Linked DNA regions of Homo sapiens: region 2 is linked to region 1. The links are contacts of gene promoters, found by promoter capture Hi-C in blood cells and fetal thymus (Javierre and others, 2016). All regions are on one chromosome and are shown on one strand. Each heading gives the region's core, a stretch centred on a gene start or on the middle of the fragment in contact. The rest is flanking DNA. Distances are from core to core; before and after follow the strand shown. Region 1 holds the start of FAM200C (family with sequence similarity 200 member C). Region 2 overlaps NUDCD2 (NudC domain containing 2).

What was found. The method cuts DNA at HindIII sites, captures the fragments that hold promoters and counts their contacts. A CHiCAGO score of 5 or more calls a contact.
Region 2: a fragment that was not itself captured here is called in contact with the fragment with the promoter of FAM200C in region 1 in 12 of 17 cell types (activated CD4 T cells, total CD4 T cells, M0 macrophages and 9 more); the score reaches 12.1 in activated CD4 T cells.

Annotation. Positions count from the first base shown.
Region 1 is chr5:160,398,279-160,402,472 of GRCh38, reverse strand. It overlaps FAM200C (family with sequence similarity 200 member C), which reads left to right and starts at 2,419. Exons shown (of 2, transcript NM_022090.5): 1 at 2,419-2,834. It overlaps SLU7 (spliceosome associated SLU7), which reads left to right. Exons shown (of 16, transcript NM_006425.5): 16 at 1-832. RefSeq lists enhancers at 2,730-2,879, 2,773-3,458, 3,778-4,194. The HindIII fragment of the contact is 7,568 bases long and covers 1-4,194 here.
Region 2 is chr5:163,455,578-163,459,000 of GRCh38, reverse strand. NUDCD2 (NudC domain containing 2) reads left to right here. Exons shown (of 4, transcript NM_145266.6): 2 at 1,391-1,439; 3 at 1,921-2,072. It also overlaps a transcript of CCNG1 not described here. Among named protein-coding and RNA genes, the nearest start is that of NUDCD2, 2.8 kb to the left of the region's middle. The HindIII fragment of the contact is 252 bases long and covers 2,048-2,299 here.

The sequences.
Region 1 (4,194 bases), core at 1,170-3,669:
TTTCACAGACAAAGTCATAATGCCCTGCAGTCTTGGGCTCAAGCGATTCTCTCTTCCTTGGCCTCTGGAGTAGACTAAATGTGTTAGTCTTTGAATGGAAAACAACTATTTTCTCATCATTGGGTCAATATTGACTGATCAGTAGTAGGTCTTTTACCATTCTGGACATAAGTCTAGGTGTAGAAATCCTTTCCTTTATCATAGAGGATATGGTTTACATTACCGTTTGTTTTCATTGTGATTGCCCCTATGTAACAATCATGAATATTAGATTTTTTAAATTGTAGAATATCCTAATATTTATAGCCAGCAGCTGTTACTTTGTTTGTAAAATTTGCAAAAAAACAAAACCTGAAGTTGGTTTATTGAAAGAATTATAAGGATAGCTTCTAGGGATATTAGTAATAGATTGCCATGATCCTGAAGCCTCTTCTCAGAACACTGTGAAGATAATACTGACAGTAGAATCAGTGAAAACAGCCTAACAAAACCTCTGACATCAGTATATCAACTTTTAACAGCCCACTCACTGGCTTTTCTAAACTACCAAAAACCACCTGTAGGATACTGCATTAAGTCAGCATCTCAGAAACAGTGGTGTGAGTAACTGAGTCAAATTGTCAAGTACTTTGGATATACATAGTGTCGAGCTTTAGATTGGTATGAAATTAAACAGCAATGCAAATAGATTTAATTCCTATTTACTTTAAGAATGAAAAACAATGTTCATTTTCCTACCTAAACAGGGTGGTTCAACATAAAGGCTGATGTTGTGTCCGTTTTGTATTTTATCTTTTGTTAAAGATACATAAATGACAATACTTAACTGTGAGTGGTTTGTAGCATTATTTCTAATATTTGGCAGAAAAGTTGTTTATGGGACAGGGAGGGGAACCTGGATTAGCTTCTGTGAGTTTAAGAAAATTTCAGCATCTTGTCACCTAACCTTTCTGGACCTCTTTCCCTCTTCTATGAGGCCTGGTTTACTTAGATTTAGGAAGAATTCTGTAATATCCAGAATCATGTCTTCTGTTTTATTTTGGAAAAGTAATGCCTAGCCAGCCTGGCCAACATAGCAGAGCCCTGTCTCTATGAAAAATACGAAAATTAGCTGGGCATGGTGGCACACGCCTATAATCCCAGCTACTCAGGAGGCTGAGGCATGAGAATTGCTTGAACCCGGTTCAAGAAGTTACAGTGAGCTGAGATTGCGCCACTGCTCTCCAGCCTGGGCAACAGAATGAGACCCTGTCTCAAAAAAAAAAAAAAAAAAAAAAGAAAAAAACATAATGCCTAGGACATTACTCAGATTGAGCTTTGATTTTATTATCTCAATAATAGCTGCCTTTTGAGTGCGAGAATTATGTACTGTAATTGTCATAATGTTATCTCCTTCCTCAAAAGAATTTCATGGGGTAATGGATGATATGTAAGTTTTACAAAAAGCACATGGAATTAACTCCAAGTAACCTGCACAAATCCTAACCGTTGGAGTCAGGACATGAAGCTAGCTGTGGGATTCTGAAGCCTACCCCTTTCTCTAGTATTGAAGGCCCTAATTTCTTGACCAACAAGGCTGGTCTTTAGCAGTTTCTTCCATCCACAAAAAACTTCAGCAGCCCGTCAATATTTACCAGGCTCACCCTTAACACCTGAAAATGATGTATCTGGCCCACATTCGTTGACGCCCCACCACTCCTCACACACACTAGTCTTATGGAATGCTTCTAACAAGATTGTACAAAAATGAGTAAACTCATTAAGTTTATAAGAATTCTGGAAAGACCCCCAAACAGGAAAGGGCTATATTCCGGTTTCTTTCAACAACGTTTCCTAGTTTCTACTTGGGATTTTTCTCTAAAACCTCTCTAATATGGGTTTATTTCTTTGAAATCATGTTGTTGAAAGAATTTAAAATAAAAATATTTCAGATATATGATGATGACATGGAAATTCATCCCTATGCTCCCACTTACGGAAAGTGGGATCAGCTTGCATAGGCAACAGTACACAAGCTATGGAAGCTCATCCTCCACTGCTGAAATGTCTAATCTGAAATTACAATGAGCTTCCTTCTCTTTTTCTCTCATTTATTCCACATGGAACATGGCAATTATCAGGCGTTTTATCTCCAAGCTCAAAGCCCGACACAATATAAAAGTTTAAGTGCTCTGCATGTTAAAAAGAACTATGTGGAGTTTACAGCCCCTTCCATTCCTGAAATTGTACAGTTCATCCTCTCTGGCAGACACAATAAACAAACGATTTCTTGTTCCACGTACACAATCTTAAAAAAAAAATTGGGAAGGGCTAGCGCGCATGCTCAATACTCAAGCCAGCCAGCCCATCCCACAGCCCTTTGCTACTGCGCCTGCGTGTGGGAGACGCCTCTCCCAGTTTGCGGGCGGGAAGCACCCTGGAGAACCCGGATGGAACCCGGGCCTGGCTGAGGCGGAGGTTGTTGCGGATGCTTCTCTCTCCAGGCGCACCGCAGATTCCTGCCCGGGGGTTGGACCCGAGGAACCGCCGTCTCTACTGGTTCCGACGGCCAGAGGCTGGGCCCTAGGCTGAGCGGAGAGTGGGACTGGAGCCTGAAACGGGCGCCTAAAAGAAGCCCGTGCATCCCATAGGCCTGCGCCTCAGGCTTGGAGACGGGCGGGCGGAGACCGCGCTGAGTCTTTTTTTTTTTTTTCCTAGCAGCTGGCGTTCTTATCTCACCCGGGAGGCTGTAAAAATCTCCGTCCTTAACAGTAACACCATCAGGTCCTATCAGTTAAGAGCTGCTTGTTATTTGCATGCATTCTTATAATTAAATCTCCTAACAACCCTGTAAGGTAGGTACTGTTATCCCCTCTGGAGGAACTGAGGCTTGGAAAGGTCCCATCCTGTAAGTGACAAAGCCACGATCCCAGGCGTTTGCCCCTGGAGCGTCTGCCCAGCCACCAAGTTCCTGCCCCCATTCTCCTGGCTATTGATTTTAACTGTAAAATGTAATGGTTAAATGCTCTGCCTCCCCAGACACCTGCGCCTATCATGATCTTGCATACGCAGTGGCTAGAAAGAAGTTGAATTGTATTTGGTTTGGAGTTTTAGGTTTACAGCTGCACTTTGGTGTTTTCACTGCTGGAATATATATATATTAGCATTCCCTAAATATTTGTTTTGTGAGTGTTCACTTTTAACTGATTTTTCTCATTTGTAATACTTTTTCATATCTACCCTTCATAAACTTGCAAAAACATTTTACTTTGTTATATCAGATCTTTCATTAAGCATCTGAAGATAATCTCTCAAAAGAATCATGCTTAAAATGAGTGATATCTATCTTAAGATAATGCTTTTTATCTTTTTATTATGGAAAGTTTCCAAAATACATTAAAATAGAACGGTGTAATGATGTATACCCATCATCCAGCTTCAAGAGTTACCAACTTAAGGCCAGTCATTTCTTTTATCTCCACCCCGCTTTGTGCATGTTTGTGAGTGTGCTGAAGTACGTATTTCAAAGGAATCCCAGACATCTTATTTCACTTGTAAATAATTGTCTGTATCTAACAAATGAGGACTTTTTAAAAACACAACCACAATACCATTATCATGCCTGTTTAACAATATCTCCTTATCATGATGCTTTTTAATGTTTACGTTTTTTAGGATATTGTAATTCCTAAATACCACAAAAGCGCAAGTGCAAATTGTGAGGTTCTAAAACACAAGCCTCTTGGGCAGTAAGTTCATCTTTGAGGCCCTTGAAAATTCTTGCCACCTGTTCTCCCTTTTTGAGGGTTATGGAGAAGAATACTTTAAATTGATTTTCCTAAAACTGTTCAAAACAGATAAATTTTAAATTAAAATATACTTGAGAGACATAGTCAAGGTGGATAGGAATGGACTCTTAACAGATCTTGTAATGATTTCCAGTTTGTTTTGTTTTTGAGACAGAGTCTCACTCCGTCACCCAGTCTGGAGAGCGCAGTGGCATCATCTCGGCTCACTGCAACCTCTGCCTCCCAGATCAAGCGATTCTCCTGCATCAGCCTCTCCAGTAGCTGGGATCACCATGCACAGCTAATTTTTGTATTTTTAGTAGAGACGAGGTTTCGCCAAGTTGGCAGGGCCAGTCTCAAACTCCTGACCTCAGGTGATCCGCCTTCCTCGGCCTCCCAAAGTGCTGGGATTATGGACATGAGCCAC
Region 2 (3,423 bases), core at 924-3,423, 3.1 Mb before region 1:
TCACTGGTATGTAATAAGTTCATACTATATGTTAGCTATTAGCTATTATATATATTACAGTATATGGAGGTGCTTTGAGTGCCTCAAGATTCGTGTGAAAGACATTATGTCAGCTTGGATCTCAGTTACTTTTCTGAATTGTACAATTCATAGTTTCCTCAACAATGGTTTTAGATTACGATTATAAATTAGTAAATCCAGTAACTTTCGGAATTTAGCAGTAGCTGCTGAATTTGGGATTTCTGATGTACGTATAGACCAGTGGGATTTTTTTCTCACTAATTTTGACATATTTTAAAATGTGGGCTTTTCCTAGTGACATTTAATTTCACTTTCTATAACTTAAATTTGGCAACAAATTAAAATGGATTTGAGTTTAGGCATTCTCTCTTTAAAAAAAAATATATATTTATTGAGACAGGGTCCCTGTCTCCCATGCTGGGGTGCAGGGGTGAGATTGTAGCTCACAGCAGCCTCAAACCCATGGGGTCAAGCAATCCACGTTGGCCTCCAAAGTCCTGGGATTACAGGCCTGAGCTACTGGGCCTGGTGCAGTCTCTTTTAAATTTATATTTTGTTTATTTTTTTAAAAAACATGAGTTTGTGAACAGTTAGTCACAACTAATCTATCAAATCTGGAATACGTAAAGTTTTTTTAATGCCGATTGCCCAACAAAAAGATTAAAACGTTTTTAAAAGTTTACTTTAAAAACAACATTTTGCCGGGTGCGGTAGCTCATGCCTGTAATCCTGGCACTTTGGAAGGCCTAGGCGGGCGGATCACAAGGTCAGGAGTTCGAGACCAGCCTGGCTAACACGGGGAAACCCCATCTCTACTAAAAATACAAAAATTAGCCGGGCGTGGTGGCGGGCGCCTGTAGTCCTAGCTACTTGGGAGGTTGAGGCAGGAGAATCGCTTGAACCCTGGAGGTGGAGGTTGCAGTGAGCCAGATCGTGCCACTGCAGCCTGGGCGACAGAGCGAAACTCTGTCTCAAAAAAAAAAAAAAAAAAAAAAAAAAAGACAACATTTTTTAGTTTTAGCAGGAGATCCCTTCTTGTGGTTAATTTAAATTGGTAGAATTAAAGCATTTCAGATATTAATTTCACATTTGGCCAGTGGTCAGTATTACTGTATCTTCTAAAAATTAAGGAGCCCTGATCTTTCTTTAGAGAGCTCTGTGTTCTTTGCCATAGTAAATATCCCTTGCAGTGTAAACTAGTTTCCATTTTACCTGCTGGGAGAAAATTTAGGGTTGTGCACCTATAAATGTCATGGTGAAGTGGTGGTATAAGATGTGGATTAGGTAGGAAAGTAGGTAAATCTTAATCATGAAAACTTTATAAAAATTAAATTCTGTATTTTTAGCACCTTATATGTTTATTTTTCAGGGCAAACTCTTTGATTCTACAATAGCTGATGAGGGAACATGGACTTTGGGTAAGGGTAATTACTATAATTCATCAAATTAAAATAATTTTGTCTTGATATCTTTTCCTCTTTTGTATTAGGTCTTTTTTGTCTTTGCAGCTTTGAAAGATAAAGCAATAGAAATGTGTTGAAAACCGTTGTATGTCAAAGTTACCTAGTGGGGGGAGAAAAAATTAGTTAGTTGTTTTTGGAAATATAAAATTTAATGAAGAACTTCTTGAGACCACCCTGGCCAACATGGCAAAACCCCGTTTATACTAAAAATACAAAAGTTAGCCGGGCATGGTGGCGCATGCCTGTATTCCCAGCTAGTCGGGAGGCTGAGGCAGGAGAATCACTTGAACCCGGGGGGCGGAGGTTTCAGTGAGCCGAGATCAAGCCGCTGCACTCCAGCCTGGGTGAGAGTGATACTGTCTCAAAAAAAAAAAAAACAACTTGATGAAGAACTCTAATTTATTTGTGCGTGTGTGTGTGTGTGTTTTTTTTTTAGAGGACAGAAAAATGGTTCGTATTGTTCTTACAAAGACAAAGAGAGATGCAGCAAATTGTTGGACTTCTCTACTAGAATCTGAATATGCAGCGGATCCTTGGGTGCAAGACCAAATGCAGAGAAAGCTTACATTAGAGAGATTCCAAAAAGAAGTAAGTCAGATGAAGTGTATGAGTATGTGTAATTAAATATATAAAAATCATCAAATAAATATTTGAAATTAAAACTCAAATGTCATTATGAAAAGTTACAAACATTTTCTAGAAGAATTTTTAAAGTGAATTGTTAGAAAAATGGCCTTTCTTGTATGGATTTGATTTTTCGGAAGATTTTCTTGAGAGGAATTTATTTGTATTGCTGTGATTTGTGAGTTTAAGCTTACTTTTATGTACATCAGTAATGCATGAATAAACTCTTACTATAGTTGAATCAATATAGACTTACCTAGTGTAAAAAGTGAAAGGCCCCTTCACCACCATTCTCCCCATTCCATGCATCTATCTCATTTTCATCTCATATGTTGGCTATTGCTTGTTTTGTTTTGTTTTTTAGCATAAATGGAGGATCACACTGTGTGTATTGTTCTTCTTGTTGCTTTTTTATTTAATAATATGCTGTGGGTCTCTTTCCCTACTAATACATAGGTATAAAACTCATTCTTTTTAACTGCTTCAGAGGATTCTGTAGTTTGGATGTGTCATCATTATTTGGCTGTTTGCCTTTGATATGATTTAGATTTCTTCATTTTTCTCTATTTTAAAGAAAGCTGTGCTTTCATCTCTGTGAAACTACTCAAGTGTTCTAAGATATCTTTAAGATAAATATCTAGGAGAGGAATTGCTAGATTGCAGCACTTGATAATGTACGTCTTTATGATAATGATTTCCAGATGTATATCTCTAGCCTAGACTTTTTTTCTGAATTTAGGACCTGCATACCCGGTTGCCTATTCAACATCTCCACCTGGCTATCTAATGTATATTAAGCTCAACATGTCCAAGTTGAACACCCTAACATCCTTCCATATTTGTTTTTACCTGTAGCCTTTTCATCTCAGTTGATGAAAACTAGTAGTTCAGGTCAAAAAAAATTGGGACTCATCTTTGATTCTTACATCTTTCTCATACCCTATCCAATGTATTAGGAAATCTTACTGATGCTACCTTCGAAATATATTTAGAATTTGGCCACTTTTCACCACCAACTCTACCACCATTCTGATCTGGACCACCTCTAATGTCTTGCCTGATTACTCTAATAACGTTCTAATTGGTCTTCTCACTTTTACTCTTGCCATAGTCTTCTCAAAATAGCAGTTAGAGCAGTTCTTTTTTTTTTTTTTTTTCTGAGATGGAGTGGTGCGATCTCTGCTGACTGCAAGCTCCGCCTCCCGGATTCCCGCCAGTCTCCTGCCTCAGCCTCCCGAGTAGCTGGGACTGTAGGCTCCCGCCACCACGCACGGCTAATTTTTTTGTATTTTTAGTAGAGGTGGGGTTTCACCGT